4 separate regions of the Homo sapiens genome follow, and all the other regions are linked to region 3. The links are contacts of gene promoters, found by promoter capture Hi-C in human tissues and cell types (Jung and others, 2019). All regions are on one chromosome and are shown on one strand. Each heading gives the region's core, a stretch centred on a gene start or on the middle of the fragment in contact. The rest is flanking DNA. Distances are from core to core; before and after follow the strand shown.

The links. Contacts are between HindIII fragments. The study calls those that stand out against the background at their distance.
Region 1: a contact is called between a fragment that was not itself captured here and the fragment with the promoter of WNT8A in region 3, in 1 of the 25 tissues and cell types used here (dorsolateral prefrontal cortex).
Region 2: a contact is called between the fragment with the promoter of KDM3B here and the fragment with the promoter of WNT8A in region 3, in 1 of the 25 tissues and cell types used here (adrenal gland).
Region 4: a contact is called between a fragment that was not itself captured here and the fragment with the promoter of WNT8A in region 3, in 1 of the 25 tissues and cell types used here (bladder).

What each region holds. Positions count from the first base shown.
Region 1 is chr5:137,741,748-137,745,141 of GRCh38, reverse strand. No RefSeq gene overlaps it. Among named protein-coding and RNA genes, the nearest start is that of KLHL3, 7.4 kb to the right of the region's middle. The HindIII fragment of the contact is 5,717 bases long and covers 1-3,394 here.
Region 2 is chr5:138,350,572-138,354,156 of GRCh38, reverse strand. It overlaps KDM3B (lysine demethylase 3B), which reads right to left and starts at 1,472. Exons shown (of 24, transcript NM_016604.4): 1 at 1,170-1,472. The coding sequence starts at 1,361. RefSeq lists an enhancer at 533-632 and silencers at 883-1,352, 1,433-1,672, 1,693-1,772. The HindIII fragment of the contact is 4,490 bases long and covers 1-3,585 here.
Region 3 is chr5:138,081,865-138,085,418 of GRCh38, reverse strand. It overlaps WNT8A (Wnt family member 8A), which reads right to left and starts at 1,386. Exons shown (of 5, transcript NM_001300939.2): 1 at 1,136-1,386; 2 at 783-921. The coding sequence starts at 1,291. The HindIII fragment of the contact is 19,757 bases long and covers 1-3,554 here.
Region 4 is chr5:137,821,519-137,825,072 of GRCh38, reverse strand. No RefSeq gene overlaps it. Among named protein-coding and RNA genes, the nearest start is that of MYOT, 45 kb to the left of the region's middle. The HindIII fragment of the contact is 7,359 bases long and covers 1-3,554 here.

The DNA of each region.
Region 1 (3,394 bases), core at 87-2,586, 340 kb after region 3:
AATATTAGGGAAATGTTAACTGTGGTCTGTCAAAAGGTGAAATATTAACTCAGTGTTATCAGGTGAATGAATTAACAAGATGTGGTATATACATACAATGGAATATTCAGCCATAAGAAAGAATAAATTTCTGGTATATGCTACAAGATGAATGAAAACATGCCAAGTGAAATAAGCCTGCACAAAAGGACATACTATGATTGCACTTAAATGAGGTACCCAGAGTAGGCAAATTCAGAGAGATAGAAATGGGAAATTACTGTTTAAGGGATACAGAATTTCTTTTCAGATGTTGAGAAAGTTCTGAAAATGGATAGTGGTGATTGTTATACAACATTATGAATGTACTTAATGCTGATGAATCGTATATTTAAAAATGGTTAAAATGGCTTTTTTTCTTTTTTTTGGAGGCCGGGTCTTACTCTGGTGCCCAGGCTGGAGTGCAGTGGCATGATCATAGCTCACTGGAGCTTCGAACTGTGGGCTCAAGTGATCCTCCCACCTCAGCCTCCCCCGTAGCTAGAACTGACTACAGGCACGCGCCACCACAGCTAGCTAATTTAAAAAATCTTTTTGTAGAGATGGAGTCTTGCTATATTGCCCAGGCTAGTATTGAACTCCTGGGCTCAAGTGATCCTCCCACCTCAGCCTACCAAAATCCTGGGATTACAAGTGTGAGCCACCACACCTGGCCTAAAATGGCAAATTTAATGTATATTTTACCACAATAGAAATTGTAATGAAAAAATATATTATTTAACATAATAAATATGTAAGTATATTAAAGTAGTGGGATGAAAAAATTGTATCTTTTAAATATTTTTTTAAAGACAAGGGCTTGCCCTGTTGCCCAGGCTGTAGCACAGTGGTGGTGCAATCATGGCTCACTGCAGCCTCAAACTCCTGGGCTCAGGTGATCCCTCTGCCCATGCCTTCCAAGTAGCTAGGACTACAGGTGCACACCACTATGCCTGGTTAAGTTTTAAAATTTTTTTTGTAGAGATGAGGTCTTACCATGTTCCCCAGGCTGGTCTCAAAACTACTGTGCTCAAGCGGTCCTCTCTCCTTGTCCTCCCAAAGTGCTGGGATTACAGGTGTGAGCCACCATGCCCGGCCAAAAAAATTTTTTAAATGAAATCATGGGACGTTGAAATTACCTATTTGCAAATATTTACAATTATGAATACCTTTTAAAAACTCCATAGAATTATTAAGTTCTCAATTTATTTCTATTCTCATGTCATCCACCCTCTCCCCAACTGGAAGTTGCCTCTTCTCCCACCAAGTTTCCATGATACCCTTTCTGTACTTGACTCTCATACTTTTTACCATTGTATATGCCTATGTCTAATTTTCTCAAACAGCTTGTGTGCTCTTTGGAATTATATTAATATAGGATTTATGTTGTCAGTCTCTGGTACAGCCTGCATAGTAGATATTCAGTGAGACTTAGTTGACTGAATCATAAGCATGCTATTTTACGAAGGTAGAGATTTACCAAAATGTTTGAGCATACGTGCCCATGGGTTTTATATCACTTCAAGTGTGTGCCTGCCTCAATTCTCTGTACTTGCTAGATGTGCAGACCTGATCTCACCCACATACACATCACTGTATTCTTGACTTTAGGGCTTTGCATCATTCATTTATATTTTACCTTTTTATGTAAAACAGCCCAATTTTCTTTGGATCCCGAAAGGAAAGAACTGCAGGCGTGAGGCAGGGGCAGCAGATAGAGGAGAGGATCATTGCAGTCAATTTAAAGTTGCATATGCCTATTGGAAAGTTGTAAGTAAGAAATAATGTTCATTCCTGAATAGAATGTCTGTGAAGGAAGCATATATTTTTTTCCTTCTTAAGCCCCAGTTGTAGTAATTAGGTTTTACTTTTGTTATGAAGAGATGTATACTTTTGCCAGCAGAGGGCACCAGTTGTAGGTTGCAGATTCATGGGAAGACTCAGAGACCAGTGTGCTGGTCTGTGTGAAGCACTCTGCTTGTTGCTTTAGTTGGTCTGCCCCCCACCCACCCGCCTTTTTTTTTTTTTTTTTTTTAATTCCCTTGGGTTCCAGTGGTACTCTTCCAGCTTTCCCCAAGAGCATTCTTTGGCTAGTCCTGGTTAATAAGCTAGGTGCCCAGATGAATCCAGGTGGAAGGACTTTATTATAGTAGCTGTTTGGAAGCCTTGGATGCCAGCTTGTATGTAATATCTTTAGGGGTTCAAAGCTGTTTTTCCTCATCCAGAGGTAAGGTGAAAAAGGCATTAGGCCAGGCATCTGAGGGTCTGGTTCTGCACTGAGGTTGGCTCTCTAAGTAGTTTTGAGCCAGTTACCTTTTCTCTCTGTCTCAATTAGCTTATCTCTAAAATGGAGACAGTAAGATAGGGGTAGTACATTCTGTGTATAGCTAATAGTGGTCTCTTAGGTCAGGCAGACCTGGGTTCAAATTCCAGCTTTGCCATTTACTAACTGTGGGGCCTTGGTTCAAGTTATTTAACTCTCAGAACCTCGATTCTCTCATGTTTAAAAGAGAAATAATAGTCCTACAGGGTTGTGAGAATTAAATGACAAGGGTACATGTGAAGTGTGGAATACAGGGTCTGGCCCAGAGTAAATATTCAAGGAATGGGAGCTATTATTACCATTCAGGGGATGTTGTCTTAAGTCAAAGGAGATGATGGATATGAAGCACTTTGTAAGCTTAAAAATGCAACACAAATGGCATGAGTGATTATACTCTGGAATCTACTTGGCGTGAATTCTTTTACCTTCAGAGGAAGAGTCCTTATTCCTCTGGATAAGGTGCTGTTTTGTTTCTCTTTTGACTTTTTGGGGTCTCAAGTTCCTTTTCAGTTTCTGCCTGGCTGTCTGAGGGCACTTGGCAAGTGCTCCTGAATATGAGAGGGCATTTTGGTGATACAGGTGTGGGTGGACCTTAATTTAGCTTTGGTCTTGTCTACTCCTTGCTGACCTGTTGGTAATAGTAACCAGTGGAGATGTGAAAATAGCTCCAGGAGAGGCCCTACCCTGGTTAATTTTCTTCTTGAACCTAGGACCGAGTGCTCAGGTTCGGTAGCATTGGCACAGACAATGAAAATCATAGCTACTAATGGTTGCTGAGTGCTTATTATAGGCCAGGCTCTCAGCTAAGTGCTTTACATTCTAACCTAACAATGCTGTGAAGTAGGTACTATTGTTCTCACCTTTTTTCGAATGAGAAAAATCGAAGCTTGTAACTTGCCTAGGGTCATGTTTCTGGTAAGTACATTTGGACCTTGCCCTGTCTGATTTTAATGGTCTGGGCTCTTTTCATTGTTCAGGTGATGTTTGCATCTAGCTGTGCATTAGAGTCACCTACGAAGTTCATTAAAATTCCCGTTCCTAGTGGGTGCGATA
Region 2 (3,585 bases), core at 223-2,722, 270 kb before region 3:
ATATTAGTGAAAAAGGACAGTCTAACACCGTTGATCAATAGGAAGAAAAATGAACATCGGAAGCCTACAACATTACTTCCAAATCTCACAAACTGCGTTCCCGTTTATATCTGCAAAAGCAAGTTCATCAAGAAAATTTACTTTCTGCTTGCTGATCTATTACATTCCAAAAGACCACCCCCTGCCCCAACACGCACACACACCATTTTTCATAGCCTTATCTCACCAGAGAAGCTAGGGCCCCTATCAAAATGAGGAAATAAAGTGGCTTGCCAAAACTCAAACACTATATTTTACCGCCACATTAACGAGAATAACACATCATGATCCCGAATGCTAGTTAAGTTGTATGACTGAACAACTTTAATCACAAAACACACCAAGGCATTCAAAAAGGGCCAAGCCCAAACACAAAGTTTCAAAACAAAACCTCTCCCAAGGTTGGGGGAGTAGCTGAGCTGGGAGCAAAAAGCACTACCCAGCAGCCCCGTTCGGCCACTAAGAAAGATCTCAAACTTAACAAAAACAGCCACAACTGCAGCTCCTGTCACCCAGAAGCGTTAAGGAAAGGAGAGGAGAGCTCGAGACAGTGCCGAGAGCTGGCCTTTCTGGAGACCGCCAGGCCGAGCCCAGCTCAGATGAGGAAGTAACTGCCAGATAAAAAAGCCCCGACCAGCTCCAACTGCAGCCTCCGTGCCTCCCATAACTGCCCACATTCCCGCCCCACTTGGGGCTCTGGGAGAAAAGGAACAGGGCGCAGGTCTCCTGGGAGAGGCTGGGGACCACAGGTCCGCGTCTTCGAGAGGGCAGCGGCAACACTGGCCGAACTCTGAGGCTCCCGGGAGCTCAAGATTCGAGAGCCTGCTCCGAAGGCGTGTTGGGGGGAACGCCGAGAAAAGGGTCGCCCAGGAGGCGGGGCCTGCTGGCTGCAAGCAGCAGCTCCGGACGCCCTGGCCGCCCCCCGGGGGAAACCGGGGCGCACACCCCGACGCGGAAGCCATGCCGGCAAGCGCTCGGGGTGCGGAGGTGCCGGCGGGGGGCGCTAAGGAGACCCGGGGGCACGGAAATGGGTCACCCCCATCCCACCGCCCCCTCACAAAGGCCCCCGGGGAGGCCGCCCGCAGGCCCCGCAGCCCCGGCCTCGAGTGCCCGACTCGGCCGCCACTCACCGCTAGGTCCTGGGGCACCGCCCCGCTCATGGCCCGCACCGTGCCGGCCCGCCAGGCTCGAGTGCGCAGCGCAGGCCCCGGATCTCCGCTCGCCGCTGCCGCCGCGGGAGCCGAGGCCGAGGCTGAGGCCGCAGTGTCCGCGAACAGCAGCAGCAGCCGCTTGCCCACCGGGGAGGCCGCCGCGTCCGCCATCGCCGGGGCCGGCCTGACCCGCGCTCCCGCCCGCCGCCTCCCACCACCTCCGCCGCCAAGCGCCCGATCCGCCCGCAAGGCCTCCCTCCGCACCACCCGCGGCCGCCGTTCCCCCCCACCCCCCCCAACAGCCACCACCAACCACCGGCGCAGCGCAGCGCCCCCCGTGGCCGGGAGCGGAGCCGCAGCCTGGGCCCCGCACAGCGCCCCCCGCGCTCTGGAGCGGGGCGACAGCTCCTGGCCCCTCGCAGCGCTCCGCCCCAATCTCCCCGGGGCCTGCAGTGCCCCCTGCGGTCTGGAGGGGAATTGCAGGTCCGGCCGGGGTAGGGAAGTGGGCGGGTCCTTCAGCTTCCCCATGGCATCATCCCTGGTCTCAATCTTCCTTCAGGGAGTCGTATATATGAGAGGGCTTTAGCTTGCTCTCCTCGGATACCAAAGACATTTACGGGGTAAGGGGGTGAGGGGCAAGGTACCTAGAGAGTGGATGTTTTGAGCTATTTAGTGTCTCCAATACCCCCATTGATTTCCTATCCTGAAAATATGAGCTCCTACCTGCTGTCTTGTAGGAAATGTTCTCCCCATTGGTCCATGAGACACAATGTCTTCCTTCTCAATGGCCCATAACAGCACCATCCCATTCTATACTGCCAGCACTTCTTAGGTTCCTTTCCAATTGGCCAATGTATTACTTCCATTGGATGTATAATGCCACTCTTTCCACTGACTGAAGGCCAACGTGCCCCCCAACATCTTGGTGTTTTTCCTAAAACCGACCTAACTTCTTCCCCTTCCTAGTCTGCCAATGTTATTAAGTCTACGTGTTTCTCCATTCAACTCTTAGGGGAACTGGAAATAGACCAACAGTAAAGGGGTTCTCTTAGTAGCACTCCATCTTACCATGGAATTAGTGGGGCTGGGGGCAAAGAAAATTCTGTAACTCTTATCTGAATGCATTTAATACAGGTGTGGGAGACTGATAGCTCCTGATTAGAAAAGGAGCCTGCAGAGAAAGTGAGATGCTGAGATTTTTGGCTAGATTGTTACCCACAATAAGCAACAGGAAATTGCCTCAATCATTTAAAGCTGGCAATATCAGGGACTAGCACATTCCATGGTCTCATGGATGCAGAGACTGAGTATACACAAAATGGATACAAAAGATAAAGGGTATAGTAATAACCCATGACTGTTGTTCTAAAAGTGACTTTTTGATTTTCCCTACAGACAGGAAATAGTGGTAGCTGGTTCTTTCTCCAAGGCTTCTGTGCCTACCCCAGCTATCTCCTGTCCATAACCTTGTCTACACCCTTGACCTACTTTTCTTGTAACAAAGGCTTGGGGAGAGGGGTAACCAACTATTGACTTTATACTTTTACTAAAGTATAAAACATATAGGAAAATCATTCTAGAACCAACCCTGTGGAGCACCAAGGAAACATTCCTCCCTCCACTTCTTTTTAACTTCCATCTCCCACAGCCAACCTGAGGCCTGACTCAGAATGTTTTTCTGGGCTGAGAGCCACCTCTTAAAGCACATGGCCCATAAGCTGTAGTTGGTAGGAGGGGAACAAGGGTGAATCCATACAAGATCTATCTGCCTTGCAATTTTTCTATCAAAATTATCTGCTGGGATTTTCTCCCATACAGAGATTTAACTACTGCCCCAATGTCCAAGGCTAGTTTCTCACAGCAGAGAGACAGAAATGTACCTAAGTTCACGGATGGGAAAGGCAAAAGGGAAATGCATTCAACAAATGTGACCAGCACTTTTCATGTGCCAGGAACTTCCCAAAGTGTTGGGGACACAATATTGAATAAAACAAAACTCTTGCCCTCATGGAGTTTACGTTCTTTCCTATATTAACAAGACTTCAGGAATGAAAAATAAAATCACACTTGGCCTCACAGAAAATAGCAGAAAAATCCAACAAAAATAAACTCAAAAGAAAAAAAGGGGGAAACAAAGTCATTTTAGATGTTCAAACTTTACCCCTGCTCAAGCAGTAGGTGAAATGAAACATCAGTTTTAAAGAAAAAAAACCCTGTAATTCTAAGCTTCTTTAACCACATGCCACTGCCCACCACTTCCCCAAAGCCCTTCCTTTGTTTCCAGGGCAGGTGACAACCCTCACTTTTTCTAGGGTGTATGTGCACCCCTGCAAAGATTCCTGCTCCAGGTAGTCAAGTCAGTCCTGTCCTGCACACACTTCATTGGTATTCAATG
Region 3 (3,554 bases), core at 137-2,636:
GGCACAACTCAATGTGACGTCTCAGCTTTTCTGTTGAGATTTTATGGCAGTTAGCCATGTGAAACTTCCTCAGGAGCTGCAAACACACAGCCCTTTCCCCATTTTTATTTCATGCAACTCAGTGCAAGATCAGTGTGTACAAACGCACAAATATAGGCATGCATTTAAAAAATAGAGTAATTTCCGCTGGGCACGGTGGCTTACGCCTGTAATCCCAGCACTTTTGGAGGCTGAGGTGGGTGGATCACCTGAGGTCAGGAGTTTGAGACCAGCCTGGCCAACATGGTGAAACCCCATCTCTACTAAAAATACAAAAAATTAGCCAGGCATGTTGCATGCCTGTAATCCCAGCTACTCGGGAGGCTGAGGCAGGAGAATCACTTGAACTCCGGAGGCGGAAGTTGCGGTAAGCCGAGATTGCGCCATTGCACTCCAGCCTGGGCAACAGAGTGAGACTCCGTCTCAAAAAAAGAAAAAAAAAAAAGAGTAATTTCCTACATTTATCTCATACATAGAGACACCTCATACCCACCTCATTCAACCCATAGGATACTTCTGATGAACTAAACAGAACTGGCCTTACTGACCCAAATGACAAATCTGGGGCTGAGAGAGGGTAGGTAATTTACTCAAGGCCACACAGCAAGGAAATGGCAGGTCAGCAGGTCACTGGCAGCATTTTTATTTCACTGTGCAATACATGTCACACATATACACATACTGCAAGCCCCACTCCATTCACATATATACCCCTTGTACAGGTGAGTCCCACACAAACTTACCACTTCTCAGCCTGTTGTGGGTGGAGAGCTGAAGAGCATTTTCAGGGCAGTTCCAGCGTTCCCAAGCAAACTGGAACTTGCACTCCTCGATGCCACTCTGGGCACCCAAGGCCACACTAGTCGTGTAGGTCAGATAGGCCTGGCAAAGGGAAAAGGGCTGTGAGCTTCTGCCCGGTATGGGTCATCTGTGGTTGGGGGAGCAGGCAGGACTCAGATGGGCCAGCTCTCCATTAAGAATCAACCATGGGTTCCTCTGGGTGAGGGGCTCTGGCACTGTCCCCGCCCCTCTTTTCTCCAGAAGAGTCCCCTTAGGGCCCTCAGTGGGTAAAAACAGAAGCTGGAGATCATCCTACCTTGGGACCTGTTATCAGGAAATTGTTCACTGACCTACCAAAAAGAGAAAAAGTGAGGCAGAGGTGAATGGGGATGAGACAATGGGGGCCTCCTTGGCAAGGAGTGAGGGTTGGGAAAGGACTTACCAGGCAGAGGCACTGAATGCAGCACAGCATATGCCCAGAGCTGCCCAGAGCATAAACAGGTTCCCCATCGCCCTGCCTACCCCAGTGGACCAGGTCCAGCTCAGGGCCAAGTCCAGAGAAGTGAGGAGAGGGCAGGGTCTTCCTCAGTATTTATGTGAGAAAATTCTGAATGTCCAAGGGAGGAAATCAGCAGCTCTTCTCATTTGTTCCTAACTGGCAGGGCTGCAGGAGCCACCGGCCCAGTGGGGGATCTGGGAGGAGGGACTCAGTTTTCGCCAAAAGCCCCGCCCTGCCCAGCCCCTCCAGCCCTTCTTCCCTCCCAGAATGAGAAGGAGGCTGCTTTTCTCCTATACGTGAGATTTCTTTCTTCTATATGTCAATTTTGTCTCTTCCTGCTTCTTTGGCCCATTTCTCAGAATCATGTAGGCCAGAGCAGGCTGGGTCCTTAACCCTGAAGGCAGGTCACCTATTCTTGGAGCTACAGTGTCCTCATCTGTCAGTGAGAGCCCACTCTCTGTCCTGCCATCCTCCCCAAGGTGTTAATAATCATAAAGCAACTCCATCTGGGGCTGCTTCCTACTCATTTACCTAAACCAGTGAGTGCGCCATCCCTACCACTTCCTTCAAGGCTGTGAGGTGATGGAGCTGTGGGACTATGGAGCAGGAACACTTCAGAGTCCATCTCTGCAACAGTCCCTTCCACCACATTCTAGCAACTGCTGGGAAATTTCCTTAATTCCTAGCAAATCTATCCTTTTATATCTGAGGGTTACAACTCCAGTTAGTTGATTTTTTATATATCTGAGAACCAACCTTAGGGCCACCCAGGGTTATATTTGGGAAGACTGATGCCTTTCTCTTTTTTTTTTTTTTTTGAGACAGAGTCTCTCGCTCTGTCGCCCAGGCTGGAGTGCAGTGGTGCAATCTCAGCTCACTACAACCTCTGCCTCCTGGGTTCAAGTGATTCTCCTACCTCAGCCTCCCAAGTATCTGAGACTACAGGTGCCAGCCACCACACCCAGCTAAATTTTGTATTTTTAGTAGAGAAGGGGTTTCGCCAGTTGGCCAGCCTGGTCTTGAACTCCTGGGCTCAAGTGATCTGCCCACCTTGGCCTCCCAAAATGCTGGGATTATAGGCATGAGCCACTGGGCGTGGCCCTGATGCCTTTCTTTCTGATACTACTTTGTTACTAGGACTTCAGCTCCTTAGGTGGGAATCTGTCTTTTATTTTATTTTATTTATTTATTTATTTATTTATTTATTTATTTATTTATTTATTTTGAGATGGAGTCTCACTCTGTCGCCAGGCTGGAGTGCAGTGGCATGATCTCGGCTCACTGCAACCTCCACTTCCTGGGATCGAGCAATTCTCCTGCCTCAGCCTCCGGAGTAGCTGGGATTACAGGTGTGCGCCACCATGCCCAGCTAATTTTTGTATTTTTAGTAGAGACGGGTTTCACCATGTTGGCCGGGATGGTCTCGATCTCTTAATCTCGTGATCCACCTGCCTCGGCCTCCCAAAGTGCTGGGATTACAGGCGTGAGCCACCATACCCAGCCTTATTTTATTTTATTTTTTGAGGCAGAGTTTCACTCTTGTCACCCGGGCTGGAGTGCAAGTGTGCCATCTCAACTTACTGCAACCTCCACCTCTGTGTTCAAGTGATTCTCCTGCCTCAGCCTCCCCAGTAGCTGAGATTACAGGCATGTGCCACCATGTCCAGCTAATTTTGTACTTTTAGTAGAGACAGGGTTTCCCTATGTTGGCCAGGCTGGTCTCAAACTCCTGACATCAGGTGATCCACACGCCTTTGGCCTCCTGAAGTGCTGGGATTACAGGCATGAGCCACCGCACCCAGCCAGGAATGTCTTTTAGGTTCACTTTCGGTTCTTAGAGCTTAAGAAGGCACCTGGATGAACAAACGAAAGACCCTGTGACCCCTAGTGGGCACCATTAGGTATGCTTGGGGACTAGAACAAAAGGTGGGAAAGTCCTTCTTGGTTGCTGAAGCTCTTTCCTAAGGCTGGAGAAGGAAGTCTAGAGAAGTTCAGAGGAAAGCATAGATGGAAAGTCACAGTTCTGACTCCATCCTGTGACCATTACAACATCCAGATCACTTCCCAGAACTTTGGACCTGGTTTGGGTGGGAAGTGGAGCTCAGAGATCCCCCCACCAAAGGAGTTCCAGGGGCCAAAGAGTCCCCAGGTGTCTTTAGGGCATACTCCAAGTATGGGCCAGGCTTGGCGTCGGTCTGCAAACTGACTGTTGTCCTTCTGACATAAGATAATTACA
Region 4 (3,554 bases), core at 979-3,478, 260 kb after region 3:
CACTTGACTCTCACAAACACCTTTTTAAATAGCTGTTTTTATAATATGTACTTTACAGATCTGGAAACTGAGGCTTGAGGGGACGTTCTGAAAGTTACTCAAGGTTGTCTAATATGGCAGAAGTAGGATTGGAACCAAGATCTATCTGATTGCAAAACATATATTCTTAATCCTTAACTTACTAAAGAAAACTTGTGTTCAGAATATGGTAGGGTGAGGGCAAGGTAGTAGTAGGAGAGAAGGCAGGGAAGGTTTGTAAAGGCCAGACTTCTGAAGGGTTTTATATGTTATACATCCATGAAATAGCTTTTTTAAAATCCATTTTGGTCCCCTAACTCCCAAGCCAGAAGGAATCTTATTTTTCCCTCTTAACCCCCAAGCACTTAATGTTTATATCTCACATCCATTTATAACTTTTGTTTTTTTCCCATTTCCCCATTTACCATTAGGCAACACAGTTTTAATCAAAGGAATTATTTCTTTTTTGAAAAATTGTATAAACCAGGCATGGTGACGTGTGCCTGTAGTTCCACCCACTCAGGAGGTAGAGGTGGGAGGATCACTTGAGCCCAGGAGTTCGAGGCTGCAGTGAGCTATTATTGTGCCACTGCACTCCAGCCTGGGTGAACAGAGTGAGACTATGTCTCTTAAAAAAGATAATAAAAGAAAAAAAAATAAAATTTATATATATTTAAATTATACAACTTGATTTGATATACATATTGTGAAATAATCACCACAATCAAGGTAATTAACATATCCATCATAGTTACCTTTTGTGTGTGTGTGAGAATACCTTTTGTGTGAGAATACTTAGGATCAACAACAAATTTTAAGTATATAGTGTAACATTGTTACTGATAGTCACCATGCCATACATTAACTCTCCAGAACTTATTCATCTTGCATAACTGAAAGTTTCTGCCTTTTGACCAACATCTTTTCATATCCTCCTTCCTTCAGCCCATGGTGAATTCTATGAATTTAACTATATTAGATTCCACATATAAGTGACATCATAGAGTATTTATCTTTCTATGTTTGGCCTATTTCACTTAGCATAATGTTCTCCAGGTTCATTCATATTGTCACAAATGGCAGGATTTTATTCTTTTTAAAGGCTGAATAATATTCCATTGTACATGTATACCACATTTTCTTTATGCATTCATCTGTCAATGGACATGTAAGTCGTTTCCGTATCTTGGTCCTTGTGAATAATGCTGCAGTGAACACAGGAATGCAGGTATCTCTTCAAGATCCTGATTCCGCAAAGGAATTATTTCTTATTCGTCATCTTTATCCCGTACAATACTCCACTCATTTAGTGAATGCTCTACTCACAAGGAAGGAAGGAAGGAGGGAGGGAGGGAGAGAGGGAAGGAGACCTGTGGTTGTAGAAAGTTTAGGCACCTGGGCTTTGCATTTCTTTTATTTATTTATTTTTGAGACAGGGTCTCACTGTTGCCCAGGCCGAGTGCAATGGTGAGATCACAGCTCACTGCATCCTTGACCTACTGGGCTCAAGTGATCCTCCCCACTCTCAGCCTCCCCTGTAGCTGGAACTACAGATGTATGCCACCACACCTGGCTAATTTTCTCTATTTTGTAGAAACGGAATCTCACTCTGTGGCCCAGGCTGGTCTTGAACTCTTGACTCAAGCAATCCTTCCACCTCGGCCTCCCAAAGTGCTAGGATTACAGGTGTGAGCCACTGTGCCCAGCTGCAATTCTTTAAGAAGTTGTGGTTGCCTTGGAGAAATTGGAAACTCTCAGATTCTTAGGCCATCCCTATATGCTAGTTGGTAAGTCATAACTCCAGCATTGCCTCCTGGGTTTCAGTGTGCATGACATCAATATGGGACAAGCCAACTGAGCTTTCTGCCAAAACTTACAGGAAAATCTGGGCTGAGCCACAAATATTATGAGCTCTAACCCAGGGACATAGCAGCTCTCCCTGCAGTTTTTGCTGATTTCTAGATGTTGTGGCTCCCTTGCCTGGGATCCGTTTGGTGTTTAGCACTTAGCCATAAATCAGTCTTGTGTCCTATGGGTAGGCTGGGGCTGGAAAGTAGAGGGAGGGAGAGCAGCTGGAGATACCTAGAGATGTTAACTGAGAATGTGCAAACCAAGAAGGAAGACGGGAACCCAGGCTATCTGCATACCTTTTTCTGTGGATAGGTTGACTGCGTAGACCTTTTTCCAAGCAGCCTGGTTGTGGCCTGTGGCCAGTCAGTTGTGTCTGCAGAAGAAATTGAGCCTTTTCTCTTCTTAAGCCTCCTTCCCTCAAATTCCTAGACCTGGAGCATACCTAAACCTCAGTTTTACCCTTTTCCCTATACAGCAGATAATGAATCACCTGATTTAGAATCAAGGGATGTGGGTTCAGGTACGGTCAGCTACTCACTGTTTGACCTTAGGCAAGTCACATAGTCTCTCTGAGCTTTGGCTTTTTCAACAGAGTTGGAGTTATGCCTCCAGCCAGTCCTGACACCCTGCCCCCTCTGCTCCCTCCGCCCCCCGCCCCCGCCTTCCCCTTCCCCATCCTATAGTTGTTGGAAGAGTGAAATGAGATAATAGGGTTGAAAGTGTTTTGTGAATGGTCAAGCTCTGTGCAGTTAATTGTAAGGGAGGAGGAGGAGGATGTGGTTTCCTGAGGGGCATTTGGGTTGTATGACCCTATTGAGTAAGCCCTTCTTTTTGTGCTGCCTAAAGTGCCACGAGGTGGCAGCAGGATCCTATCTTCCCTCGTCTTTAGTGGAGGATAAAGCCAGGAGAAGATAGGAAAGGCCTTTGGATGCTGCTTTGCTCTATCCTACAAAGGTGAAGAGGATTTATTTCTTTACCATTGTCTACATTTCTCACTCCACCAAATCCCCCTGGTTAATATTAAATAATTCCTCAAAGGACCCCCCCCCCCACTTTTTTTTTTTGAGACGGAGTCTCACTCTGTCGCCCAGGCTGGAGTCCAGTGGCGCGATCTCGGCTCACTGTAAACTCCGCCTCCCGGGTTCACGCCATTCTCCTGCCTCAGCCTCCCGAGTAGCTGGGACTACAGGCGCCCGCCACCACACCCGGCTAATTTTTTGTATTTTTAGTAGAGATGGGGTTTCACCATGTTAGCCAGGATGGTCTCGATCTCCTGACCTTGTGATCTGCCTGCCTCGGCCTCCCCAAGTGCTGGGATTACAGGCGTGAGCCACCGCGCCCTACCAGGAGCCCCATTTTTAAACTAGAATCTCAGGACACTTTCTCCACTTTTGAAGAGGCACAAAGAAGGGAGATAATTTGTCCAATATTAAATAATTAGTTCATTCGAGAAATAAGACTTCAGTTTAGGTTTCTTCCTATGAGTGCAGTCCTTTTGAAAATGTGAGTATTTTCAAGATGTTTTGGGAGGCTTGAAGCGGCTTTGTTTCTTTCAGTGGAGGGGATTTTGAGGGCCTTCTGAGACAGAGGGAAATAGGAAACCTGTCTGTAGCATTCATTTGAAAATCTTTTGAAGTGTTGCCTTGATTAAGAAACTGATTAGGGCACCTTATTAGGAACCACCA